2 separate regions of the Homo sapiens genome follow, and region 1 is linked to region 2. The links are contacts of gene promoters, found by promoter capture Hi-C in blood cells and fetal thymus (Javierre and others, 2016). All regions are on one chromosome and are shown on one strand. The core of a region is centred on a gene start or on the middle of the fragment in contact, and the rest is flanking DNA. Distances in the headings are between cores, read along the strand shown. Region 1 overlaps EMC3 (ER membrane protein complex subunit 3). Region 2 holds the start of CPNE9 (copine family member 9).

Region 1 (6,750 bases), core at 3,675-6,174, 280 kb after region 2:
GTCAGACTGTCAGCAAGGCCCCACCTCTTGCCACTCCCGCCAATGGTGAGGGAGCCTAACTTCCTCGACCTTGACAATAGTGGATCCTGACAATCTTTTCAATCTTTTGACAGCTTACTGGGCTAAAAAAAAAAAAAAGAGATATCTTGGCCAGGCACGGTGGCTCACACCTGTAATCCCAGCACTTTGGGAGGCCAAGGCGGGCGGATCACGAGGTCAGGAGATGGAGACCATCCTGGCTAACACAATGAAACCCCGTCTCTATTAAAAATACAAAAAATTAGCCGGGCATGGTGGCAGGTGCCTGTAATCTCAGCTACTCTGGAGGCTGAGGCAGGAGAATCGCGTGAACCCGGGAGGCGGAGCCTGCAGTGAGCCGAGATCGCACCACTGCACTCCAGCCTGGGTGAGAGAGCGAGACTCCTTTCTGAAGAAAAAAAAAAAAAAAAAAAAAGATATCTTGTTTTAATTGATATTCCATGGATTATTAGTGAGGTCAAGTAACTTTTCATATATTTAATGGTCTTTTGTTTCTTGTAAATTTTCTTAAAAATTTGTTAAAAAATTAACTCCATACAACCTTAGTCACTCTCAAAAAAAATTAATTATAATACCTTCCGTATGGGTTTAAAATAGCTGGTTATCTCACCTAAAGAAGTGAATAGTACTAAAATGAGAGGAGTCAACACAGAACAACAAATTACTTTGTTTTACTTTTAGTTATTTTTATTTTTATTTTTCGGAGATGGAGTCTTGCTCTGTCGCCCAGGCTGGAGTGCAGTGACGTGACCTCAGCTCACTGCAACCTCCACCTCCCAGGTTCAAGCAATTTCCTGCCTCAGCCTCCGGGGTAGCTGGGACTACAGGCACCCACCACCACGCTAGGCTAATTTTTGTATTTTTAGTAGAGACGGGGTTTCATCATGTAAACCAGGCTGGTTTGAACTCCTGACCTCAGGCAATCAATCCACCTGACTCAGCCTCCCAAAATGCAAGGATTATAGGCGTGAGCCACCACACCTGGCCTGTTTTACTTTTAACATGCTATATTTTTCACATGACTGGTATCAGTGGAAGTAGAAAATGTTAGAGCCAAAACTGTAGGGTAGACCAAACAATCACGTCTAACAACAAAGTCAACAAAATGGCACATCTTGGAAGTACTGCACTCTTCCTCATTTAGGCAGAAGCTGGGCAGCCATCTATTGGAAGGGGATCCAGGCACTGGGTGACAGCCAGGCTGGAATGCTTTACCAACTGTGCTCCCTAGAATCCTGGGTCCTGAGAACAGCAATAAGGAGAGACCCAGGGACAATAGCTCTGGCCTCCCCACTCCATCAGCTGAGAACTATTTTTTTTAATCCACTTTATACATTGGGGTTCTCAGAAAATCTAACTGAAAAAGAGAATTCCACTTCCATAGATCCCTGTATCAGATGATTTCTAAGGTCTAAGATTACTATCTTTTGCAATTTAACATTTAAATAAAATGACACCCTCCCTGCCTACCCCACCCCACTCAAATACCCATGTTAAAAATCTTCCTTAAAGATGAGTGAAGGGAACAAACATACCAGTCATAGGAGAAGGTGGCACTACCTTCCGTTTAGTTTTTTTGAAAAATCCATCCTCTGGGTTGTTGAAATAATATTTTCGTGTCAAGAAAGACTAGTAAAAAAAAAAAAAAGTGTTTTAAGTCTAAGAACTATGACACAGCAAACTGTTAAATTACTCCCCAGTGGCTTAGTCAGAAGGCCTTTAGGATATGCTGTTCCGCTCAGAGCTGTCAGCCTACTTGGCAGGCGACCTGACACTTTAGCTGAGTCACATTTAAAAACAATTTCCTAAGAAGGGTGAGGTCACCATGAGAGCAAACACCACCAGGCCACAGCTTAATTACTAAGTTGCCAACCTTTAGCTTTCCCCAGAGCCCCCTTATAAAACATTCAGATATCTACTGCCCAACAGTGAATCGTGGAGCTTTTTAATAAAAGATAAATGAGTACCTGTTTGGGAATGTATTTTCCATTTTCCCTGAGGACTCTGCTTCGAATTAGGACTTGACTGAAAAATACAACCAACACAATGAGATTTTAAAAAGTGAAACACTAGAAGAAAATGGGAGAGTCAAGTAGAAGACCTATTTAAACACAAGAGAGGGCCTATTTGGCAACAGCTCTGTGTGGAAACTTCCCAAAATACAAGTATCTTTAAAACCAACGTAAACTTATTTAACCTAACTACTAGGTTTTCAGAAAAGTATTTTTCAAAAGTGACTGTGTTTCTGAACACATAAATATTTCAGAGTTAGGTACATTTGGGACATTACACTCAGCTTTTTCTTATTTGATAATAAGCTAGGAAGACACTTTCTCTGAGTGAAAAGAATAGTTGAACACTGCTCAGGAGATCTGGGGTCAGGAGAAAGGGAGAAGAGTGAGGATAAAAGAAGGAATTTCTTATTACCTACAGAGAAATGAGAACAGGCCTTGAGAGGGTTGCTATCTGATGGACAAATAGAAAATCTACCCAGAAGTCAGACTGTTAGAAAGCTCTCAGTAAACATTTATTGAATAAATAAATGAAATTACTAGGTGATCTTAAATCAACTATTAGAGCCATAGTTGATCAATAAATATCATGCTAGGCCAGGTGCAGTGGCTCACGCCTCTAATCCCAGCAATTTGGAAGGCAAAGGCAGGTGGATCACTTAAGCCCAGGAGTCTGAGACTAGCCTGGGCAACATAGCAAGACCCTGTCTCTAAAAAAAAAAAAAAAAAAAAAAAAAAAAAAAAAAAAAAAAATTAGCCAGGCTGGTGGCACGTGCCTGTAGTCCCAGCTACTCAGGAGGCTGCAGTAGAAGGATCACCTGAGCCCAAGAGGCAGAGGTTGCAATGAGCTGAGATGGCGCCACTGCTCTCCAGCCTGGGCAACAGTTAAGACCCTGTCTCTAACAACAAAAAAAGAATACAGTGTTATGCAACAAATGGGTGTTGCTAAGATGCAAATGACAAAACAGAGATCAAAATATTAATTTTTTTCTAGGTACTCAAAAGTTCATTAAAGGAGGAAAAGAGGAAAAGGCCCTTAAAGTAATGGAAATAGTCTTGAAACGTGAAAAAAAATTATGAACAGAAATGAACATAGTAAAACCTGTGCTTGGTAGGGGCCAGGCGCAGTGGCTCACATCTGTAATCCCAGCACTTTGGGAGGCCGAGGTGGGCGGATCACGAGGTCAGGAGTTTGAGACCAGCCTTGCCAACATGATGAAACCCTGTCTCTACTAAAAATATAAAAATTAGCCGGGTGTGGTGGCCTGTGCCTGTAATCCCAGCTACTCAGGAGGCTGAGGTAGGAGAATCACTTGAACCAGGAAGGTAGGGGGTTGCAGTGAGCCGAGACGACGCCATTGCACTCCAGCCTGGGGTGGGACTCCATCTCAAAAAAACAACAACAACAAAAAACAAACAAACAAACAAAAAAACTGTGCTTGGCTTCCTGTCTCTACTCAATACAAACCACTTGTTTTAAACAGTCAGTACCCCGGGGTTTCCCCTGTCACACTACACATATTCTAGTTTCTCCACATGCTGGGAATGTTCCAGTGCCCTTTCCTTTCCGAGTTCTACTCCATCATGCCTTAACATCTTCAAGTCTCAGCATCTCCACGAAGCTTTTCCCAATGCCTGGAGCCCTCGTGGAATTCTCTCTGCTTCCTCCTCCTGAGCTCATTATGCTATACAGTTCTCTACTTTATCTACAGGGCGCAACATGTAATACATTCTGCTCCCTGGATGCTAGTCTAAAGATACTCAAAGTGTGGTGAATGCTAGTCTGTGATAAGCACAGACACTGAGAGTAAGGATTTAGAGACTTTTATAATAATTTGACATTGTCACAACATCCAGATACATGATCAAAATATTTTACAAAAGTATTAGCCTATAAGAGATTAGAAATTTAAAAAACAAAAAACCCCAAAACTGGTCCTTCACCATTGACAGTATAAGAAGCACTGGGTCTAGAGTAATGGGTAAAAACTTAAGCTCTGGAGTTGAACACATGGGTTCAATCCCACCTCTGCCACTTATTAGCCATGTGATCTTGAGCAAGTCACTTAAATTCCCTAAGTCTCTATTCATATTCTGTACAAGGGTAGATTTATTCTTTCATTGAACAAATATTTCTTGAACTTCTAAGTGCCAGGTGACATGAAGAACGGTGATCAAAATACAAATATCTTACGATGGTCAAAGTCTAGTGAGGGGGAAAGACATTAACCAAATAACCAGAGGAATAAATGTGAAATTCAATTATCATGTCCTAGAGAGAGATGGATGGTATTGCAAGAGTGCATAACCAGGAGGTGATGGAGTCTGGAAAGTCAAGGTCTGAGAGTTTGCTGAGGATGTAGGATTAAGCTGGACTCTTCAGGATGAGTGAGGATTACCTTGGCAAAGTGCTGGTGTAAACAAAATGGGCAAAAGCCTCGTAGAAGTAAACACTCTGCCTCTGAGGACCTGAGAAAAGGCCACATGACTGGAAAAAGGAGAACTATAGAAAATGTGATGAAAACAAGACTTGAGAGGTGTGCAAGAGCCAGACTATACAAAATCATGTGGTCTCACTGTATTTTTTTTTTTTTTTTTGAGATGGAATCTCACTCTGTCTCCCAGGCTGAACTGCAATGGCGCAATCCCAGCTCAGTGCAACCTCTGCCTCACGAGTTCAAGCAATTCTCCCGCCTCAGCCTTCAGAGTAGCTGGGGTTACAGGCGCGCACCACCATGCCCAGCTAATTTTTGTATTTTTAGTAGAGATGGGGTTTCACCATGTTGGCCAGGCTGGTCTCGAATTCCTGACATCAGATGATCCGCCTGCCTCAGCCTCTCAAAGTGCTGGGATTACAGGCATGAAAAACCATGCCCAGCCAGGTCCCACTGTATTTTGATCACTGTCTTAAGAGCAAAAGGAAACTAATGAAGGATTTTTTTTTTTTTTTGAGACAGGGTCTTACTCTGTTGTCCAGGCTGGAGTGCAGTGGTACAATCTTGGCTCATGGCAACCTTGACCTCTGGAGCTCAAGTGATCCTCCCATCTTAGTCTCCCGAGTAGCTAGGACTACAGGCACACACCATGACACCTGGCAAACTTTTGTGTTTTGTTTTTTTTGTTTTTTTTTTTTTTGTAGAGACAGGGTCTCACTATGCTGCCCAGGCTGGTCTCTAACTCCTGGACTCTAGTGATCCACTTGCCTCAGCCTCCCAAAGTGCTGGGATTACAGGCGTGAGCCACCACACCCAGCCAAGTGGAGAATTTTAGGCTGAGTTCTTCACATATATGATCTTATATGACTGTACCTGGCACATCCTAAGCACTAGATTAATAGTATCTGTTATTTTTTCCTTTGCATATTTTATTACTTGAACAGAAACTCTGAGAGCAGGGTCGTGACCTTGTCTTACACTGTACCCCACAGCATGCAGCAGAGTGCAAGGCACATGATAGGCCATCAAAAGGCCATTGTTCACAGCCAGGCGTGGTGGCTCTCGCCTGTAATCTCAATACTTTGGGAGGCTGAGGTGGGAGGATTGCTTGAGCCCTGGAGCCCTGGAGTTCAAGAACAGCCTAGTCAACATAATGAGACCACTGTCTCCACAAAAAAATTTAAACATTAGCCAGGTGCAGTGGCGTGTGCCTGTAGTCCCAGCTACTCGGGAGGCTGTGGGAGGATCACTTGAGCCCGGGAGATCGAGGCTGAAGTGAGCCATGATCGCACCACTGCGATCGCAGCCTCAATCACTGCAGCCTCAACCTCTTTAGTCCAGCCTGGGTGACAAAGCAAGACCCTGTCCCCAGAAAAACAAACGAAAAAACACTTGTCCAGTCTACGATAACTCAAGACTTTCCCAGGCAGTGTAATCAAGAGAAATTCATCTAAATCTCCTACAATTACACTGCTGAACAATTTTGTAAAAATGAAGTTGAGTATTGTGACCCTGAGGTATTTCAAGACCTAAATAAGCAATCTTAAATTATCCTGTATTTTCTAACACTCACTTTCTTAAGCTGAGATCCATAGCTGTGTTCTCTGAAGTTTGCAAATTCTAAAAGAAATTTTTAATTTTGTATTTTTATTTTCATGAATATCTAAAAATAAGTCTCTGTACTGTTATAAAGCTTTGTAATTTGCAACTGAAGGACATCTTTTATTTATTTATTTATTTATTTTTTGCAGAGACAGGGTCTTACCATGCTGCCAAGGTTGGTCTCAAATTCCTGGGCTCAAGGGATCCTCCCATCTCAGCCCCCCAAAGTGCTGGGATTATAGGTGTGAGCCATTGCACCAGGCCTGAAAGATATTTTCTTGGAATAAAACTTTAAAGTCAGTACTTCTCAAACCAGAGTTCCAAATTCTTAAGAATCAGTGTTTCTTCCTTTCCAAAATGTCAGTAGTATATTTGTCAAGTCTGAGAACCATTTTTTACACATAATCTATCCCCAAACCTAGTCTAATATATTTCATTCATGTATTTTACAGCTTTGGTTTAATACCTGTTAAAAAAAATTTTTTTTTTTTTTGAGACATTGTCTCATCTTGCTCTGTCACCCAGGCTGGAGTACAGTGGCGTGATCTCGGCTCACTGAAACCTCTGCCTCCTGGGTTCAAGAGATTCTCCTGCCTCAGCCCGCAGAGTAGCTGGGACTACAGGCGTGCACCACCACCCCAGCTAATTTTTGTATTTTTAGT
Region 2 (6,400 bases), core at 884-3,383:
AAGGACAGGTGGTATGGAGGGAGGGAGGATGAGGATACTGGGTCCTGTCCCAGGGTAATGTCTTTGTTCTTTCTCTTGACCTCCCCATAGGCTTGCAGCCCTGAGTGATCGAGAGACTCGGCTGCAGGAGGTGCGCTCAGCCTTCTTGGCTGCGTACAGCAGCACAGTGGGGCTTCGGGCAGTAGCCCCCAGTCCTTCCGGTGCCATCGGGGGCCTGCTGGAGCAATTTGCCCGTGGTGTTGGACTCCGGAGCATCAGCAGCAATGCCTTGTGAAGAAGCCAGCCCATGACATTTTCCTGCTCCTCTCTCAGCTGAGCCCTTAGCAGAGAATCAAAGCCATGCCTGGCCGAAGGGGTACTTCCAGGTCAGGGGAAATTTCAGTCCCCCATCTCCATCATGAACATGGCAGCCCCAAAGCTGAGCAAGGCCAAAGACAGGGTTTTCCAACCCCCAGCCTCTTGACTGGTGACCACCACCCCTTCTTGTCACTGTCTCCCACCCACCCCATCTTTGCTGGGATTCCCATCAACTCTCAGAACTGTGTGGGGTTTCCCTGGGGCCTTGTGGAAGCCATGACTTCACAAAGACCCTACCTGTCAGTTCTTGTTTCTGGGGAGGAGGGATCACCTGCACTGAGAATGAGGCAGTTTGACACAGATCACAAAATAAAATCAAAGTCTTTTTGAATAGCCACTCTTGTGTCATCATTTGGTTATTGTCTTTGTGGAGCTACTAGGAAGGTTCTCATTGTCCTTCCTTGTGCTGGACAAGGGGTTTTTATGTGGAGGGCAGGTGAAACAGGAAGAGAACTGGCGACAGGTATACCTCTCCACTCATGAGCCATGGTAGTCCCTGCAGTGGGGACAACACTCAAGACTGTTGAGAGTAGTGGTTCTCGGGCCTAAGCAGGTCCTAGTCACCTAGAGAGCCTGATGAGCTGTGCACATTCCCAGGGCTGCCTGAGCTTTAGCCTTAGGGTTGCTAAGGAAGTTGCCTGGGAATTAGGAGCTGGAGGATCTTCATTTTTTTCAGATTTTTTGAGATGGAGTCTCACTGTTACCCAAGCTGGAGTGCAATGGCACAATCTTGGCTCACTGCAACCCCTGCCTCCTGGGTTCAAGCGATCCTCCTGCCTCAGTCTCCTGAGTAGCTACGTGAACGTGCCACCATCCCCAGCTAATTTTTGTATTTAGTAGAGATGGGGTTTCACCATGTTGGCCAGGCCAGTCTCAAACTCCTGAGCTCAAGTGATCTGCCTGCCTTGGCCTCCTAAAGTGCTGGGATTACAGGCATGAGCCACCGTACCTGACCAGGATCTTCATCTTTAACAAGTTCTGTAGGCAGCAGGGTCCTGGTACGGGTGACCTGCATCCCCTACCTTGAGCCCTGCCTATGGAGGAAGGACTGGCTTCTGAAGCTTTGGAGATAGCAATTGGTGTGCATGTGTGGTGGGTGAGAGCCTGGCTGACCACCACCCTCTTCTACAGTGTAACCTACAGTAGATTGCGTCATGAGAGTGTGTCCGCATCTGTAACGCCATGAAAGTCGTGAGGGTTAAAGGCATGGGCAGACAGCTTTGCACGGTGCTCAACAGCCACCATTTACTGTCATCATTGTGAATACCCAGAGGACAAATCATAAATACCAGTGAATGTTTACTGAGCACTTGCTGTGTGCTAAGTGTTTTCCTTGGGTTATCTCAGTAAAATTTTACAGCACCTAAAGTAGCTGCTGTTAAAGGCCTTTCTGACGGCCTTTCACGGTTGAGCCACAGAGATGTTGAGTAACTTGTCCAAGGTCACACAGCTACTAAGAGATGTACTTTTCCTATTCAGAGACCTAGGCAGGCTGGGAGTGGGAAAAGACAGAAACACTAAGGGAGTGGCTCAGTAAGAGGCAACAATTCCAGTGCCCACCAGGTGCCCCAAATGTTTCAGCATCATGGACAACTCTAGGGGGCTTGGGTTTCCACCCCAGAGACTTGCGCAGGGCAGACTCTACCAAGGTGTGGGTTGGAGTTGGGAGTCGGGGTGAGGTTCCCCGCTGGCTCCAGGCTGCTCCAATGGGGCGGGGGCCGCCCGCAGGGCCGGGCGGGGCTGTGCTGCCATCTGGAGCCGCTGCCGCCGGCGGCCACTGTCAGGGCGCGAGCGGCTGGAGCGCACGCAGGGCTGGAGCGAGTGCAGCCGCCGCCGCCGCCGACACCGCGGCACATGGGCCGGCCCCGCCGCTGCCGTCGCCCCTAGCCCCAGCAGCCCTGGTCTCGCAGCCTCCTGCGGCTCTGGTCGCCCGACCAGCCATGTCTCTCGGCGGAGCCTCCGAGCGCAGCGTCCCGGCCACCAAGATTGAAATTACCGTGTCCTGCCGGTGAGCGGGCCGCGCTGGGGAGGGCTTAGGCACTGGCACTGCCCCAGCCCCAGCCAGCCGCGGGGCTCAGCCTGGGCAGGGGCTAGACCCCCGGGGAGAGGCGAAATTGGCTGGAAAATCACAGCTGATGACAGGGCGAGTAGCTGGTGGGATCGAGAAGCGGGGGGTCTTGGGCAGCCCCACCCCGAAAAAAGGGCTCAGCCTGCGGGTTCAGGGGGTGGGTCGCAGATATCCGGTAGGAGCTCGGCCCCAGGAGGACAAAGTTCTGGGGCGAGCCCTCTTTCCTGGGCCCTTGGAGACAGTGTGGGTGCGTTCGCGTCCAGTCCGCAGAGCCATGGTTCCTGGACAGCGATTTCCGGTGCTGTCCAGAGTGCTGACAGAGCGGACCCCGGCTGGGGGTAGCCATGGGGGACAGAGGTTCGATGCGGGCCCCATGCCTCTCCTCAGTGCCCGGCTCAGAGCCGACTCGAGGCGGGCGGACTCCAGGATGATCCACTCTGTCTGTCTGTTGCTTTTCTCTAGGAACCTGCTAGACCTTGATACCTTCTCCAAGTCCGACCCCAGTAGGCGGCTCCAGGACCGGGAGGGGGAACTTGGGGTCTGGGCGCGACTCAGGGGCGGGTGGAGTCGGGGCCAGGGGTGGGAGCCGACCTGACGTCCTTCCCTCCCCGCCCCCACCTGCAGTGGTGGTGCTTTACACGCAGAGCCGGGCCAGCCAGGAGTGGCGGGAGGTGAGTCCCAGAGCCCCCTCCCGGCCCAGGGCGTCGCCCGGGAATTCCCCTGCCCGTCTGCACGTCCCACGCTGACCCTCCACCCCCCTACCCAGTTCGGACGGACCGAGGTGATTGATAACACGCTGAACCCAGACTTCGTGCGCAAATTCGTCCTCGACTATTTCTTTGAGGAAAAGCAAAATCTGCGCTTCGATGTGTGAGGCCCCGCCTGGAATTCTGGCTTGGCCCGCCCCCGACCTGGATCCGCCCGGAATTCTGGCTGGCCCCACCCCCGCCTCGCCTCCGGCCTGGTTCTTCTCGCAGGCCTCCCTCCCATTCTGAATGGCCCCCTCTAGCCTGAGCCCTGCCCTTTTATGAGATGCGGTCCAGTTCCGTCCCCCGCTCTGGCCCCGCCCACAACTCTGCTCCTATCGCAGCTCCACCTCAGGCCCGACCCCTTCCACACAACCCTGCCCCCAGCAGCCCCTGACTTGGCCTCGGCCCAGGCTTGACCGTCTGACTACTCAGCCCACCCTGACTCCTCCCCAAAAGGAGACCAAAGCTGAATTCGGGTCCACGGCCGCCCATCCCTCCACCCAAAATTTTCACCAAGACTCGGTGCCCGACCCCTTTCCACCCTCTCCCCCACCCAGCCCCACCCCACACCGGTTCCACTCTTTTCCCAGGTACAACGTGGACTCCAAAACCAACATCTCCAAACCGGTGAGCAAACGTTTCCTCGAGGGTTGGCGGAGCGCACAGGAGGCACTTAGATGTGTTCAACGACTCTCAGAACTCCTCCCAACCCTCGACCCAGACCCCATCTTCTTCAGGCCCCCAACCCACCCTCCTGGTCCCTCTCCTCCTGCCTGAGTGTCCTGCCTGTGCCCCCTACTCACTGTTCCTCTTCCTTCTTGGCTGCCACTGCTGGGACCTGCAGAAGGTGAGGCTGAATGGGGCTGGGCAGAGGTTGGGGGTGGGGGTGGTATTGTGGAGAACAGGCTTGGACTGATGACCCACTACAAGGCAGAGATTGCTCGCAGACCCCTTCTTTCACACCCCCTCCATTAAAGCCCATGTAGGGCCGTGGCTCTTGCACCACTCATTCGCCTGGGAACTGCCCTGGTCCTGTGCAGGAGCATCACTGGGGCTAGGCTGGGACTCAGCACTCAAGAGCTTCTGGTCTTGCTGACTCCTTGTCCTGCATAGGATTTCCTGGGACAAGCGTTCCTGGCCCTGGGAGAGGTGATTGGAGGCCAGGGCAGCCGAGTAGAGCGAACCCTCACGTAAGCTGAATAGGAAGGGGTGTGGGAGTGGGGTGGGGGCTTCCAAATTCTCCCTCCCAAGGATGCCGCTGACTGATAGAAGTGGAGGCTGGGGTTGCCCCTGGTCAGGAGCCTGCCCCGGCTCCCATCACCCTCGTAGAAAAGTCCAATTTCCAGTGCTCTGCCCGAGTCAGTATCAGGCCTGATATGTCTTTTCTTTTCTTTTTTTTTTTTCTCTCTCTCTCTCTGTTTCTCTCTCTCTCTCCTCACTCTTTTTCTAAGTCTGATTCAGCCTTTAAGGTCCACTTCCAAGCCCCTCTCCACAGGGAAGCTCCCCCGGACTAAGTCAAATCCTCAGGAATTACCATTACATCCACTCACTAAATATGCATTAGCATGTTTTATATCCCACACCCTGTTCTAGGCACCAGGGCTTCATTCATTCCACAAACACTATGTATACATACCCTATGTCAGCCACTGTTAAAGGGGATTAGCTTGCAATGGTGAACAAAACAAAGGTTCTTGTCCTCAGGGGGCTGATACTCTAGTTGTGTGGGGAGGACAGTACAAAATAGACATAAGTAAATTACATAATAGATTAGACAATATTAAGTGCTATGGGGAAAGAGACGAAGTAGAGCAGAATCAACGGAACTGGAAATAATGGGTGAGTGGGAGGTGCAGGATTCAACAGTGCGGTTGAGCAGGCCTCACGGACAGGTAACTTTGGAGCAACAACCTGAGGGAGGTAAGGTACAGACATGTGGAGGAAGAATGTTCCAGGCAGAGGAGACTGCCAGTGCAAAAGCCTGGTGCATTCAAAGAACAGCAAGGAGGCCAGCAAGACTGGAGCCAGGTGACTGGGAGGCAGGAGGAAGTGAGGTTGAAGAGCTAACAGGGCCTTGCAGCGGACTTCCACCTTTCCTCTGAAACGGGAGTCACTGGAGGGTTCTGAGCGGAGGAGTGACATGACATGGCGGCTTACAAAAGATGGTGCTAGCTGTGGGGTTAAGAATAAACCTTGGGGGCCAGGCGCGGTGGCTCACACCTGTAATCCCAGCACTTTGGGAGGCTGAGGCAGGCGGATCACGAGGTCAGGAGATCGAGACCATCCTGGCTAACACGGTGAAACCCTGTCTCTACTAAAAATACAAAAACTTAGCTAGGCATGGTGGTGGGTGCCTGTAGTCCCAGCTGCTTGGGAGGCTGAGGGAGGAGAATGGCGTGAACCTGGGAGGTGGAGCTTGCAGTGAGCTGAGATTGTGCCACTGCACTCCAGCCTGGGCAACAGAGCGAGATTCTGTCTCAAAAAAAAAAAAAAAAAAAAAAAGAATAAACCTTGGGTGGCCAAAGGTAGAAGCAGAGAGCCAATGAGAAGACTCTGACAGTAATCCAGGATGCTACCAGTGAAGGAGGGGAGAAGTGGTCAGATTCAGGATATATTTTAAAGGTGGAGCTAACAGGTTCCTGACAGATTGAATATGAATGTGAGAGGAAAAGAGGAGTTGAGGACAACACCAAGATCTTTGGCTTGAACAACAGGAAAGATGGAATTGACACAAACTGAGATAGTAGGGAAAAAAACAAAGGAAAGCCAGGCATGGTGGTGTGCACTTGTAGTCCCAGCTACTTGGGAGGCTGAGGTGGGAGGATCACTTGAGCCCAGGAGTTTAAACTCCTGGGCTCAAGCCTGGGTGACACCCCAAGCTGGGTGACAGAGTGAGACTGTCTGTGGACAAAAAAGACAAAAAAAAAAAAAAAAACGTGAAGGAGAAGCAAGTTGGAGGAGGAATTCAATCAAGAGTTCAATCTGACATGTTGAATTTTATGTTTTATAAACATATAAAATGTTAGACATCCAAGTGGAGGTATCAAATGAGTCTTGGATGTTGGTTTTGTTGTTGTTTTTTCAAGACAGGCTCTCACTCTGTAGCCCAGGCTGGAGCGCGATGGTGCAATGGTAGCTCACTGCAGCCTCCAGTTCCTGGGCTCAAGGAATACTCCCACTTAAACCTTCCAAGAAGCCAGGTAGCTGGAACTACAAGTGGATGCCA

The links. The method cuts DNA at HindIII sites, captures the fragments that hold promoters and counts their contacts. A CHiCAGO score of 5 or more calls a contact.
Region 1: a contact is called between a fragment that was not itself captured here and the fragment with the promoter of CPNE9 in region 2, in 1 of 17 cell types (monocytes). The highest score is 7.1, in monocytes.

Annotation. Positions count from the first base shown.
Region 1 is chr3:9,975,383-9,982,132 of GRCh38, forward strand. It overlaps EMC3 (ER membrane protein complex subunit 3), which reads right to left. Exons shown (of 8, transcript NM_001394674.1): 2 at 2,007-2,064; 3 at 1,575-1,668. Among named protein-coding and RNA genes, the nearest start is that of EMC3, 8.1 kb to the right of the region's middle. RefSeq lists an enhancer at 1,047-2,246. The HindIII fragment of the contact is 2,506 bases long and covers 3,672-6,177 here.
Region 2 is chr3:9,701,700-9,708,099 of GRCh38, forward strand. It overlaps CPNE9 (copine family member 9), which reads left to right and starts at 2,134. Exons shown (of 21, transcript NM_153635.3): 1 at 2,134-2,365; 2 at 2,888-2,928; 3 at 3,050-3,096; 4 at 3,192-3,295; 5 at 3,765-3,801; 6 at 4,019-4,021; 7 at 4,288-4,364. The coding sequence starts at 2,298. MTMR14 (myotubularin related protein 14) reads left to right here. Exons shown (of 19, transcript NM_001077525.3): 19 at 91-694. The coding sequence ends at 274. RefSeq lists an enhancer at 1,773-2,683. The HindIII fragment of the contact is 18,760 bases long and covers 1,417-6,400 here.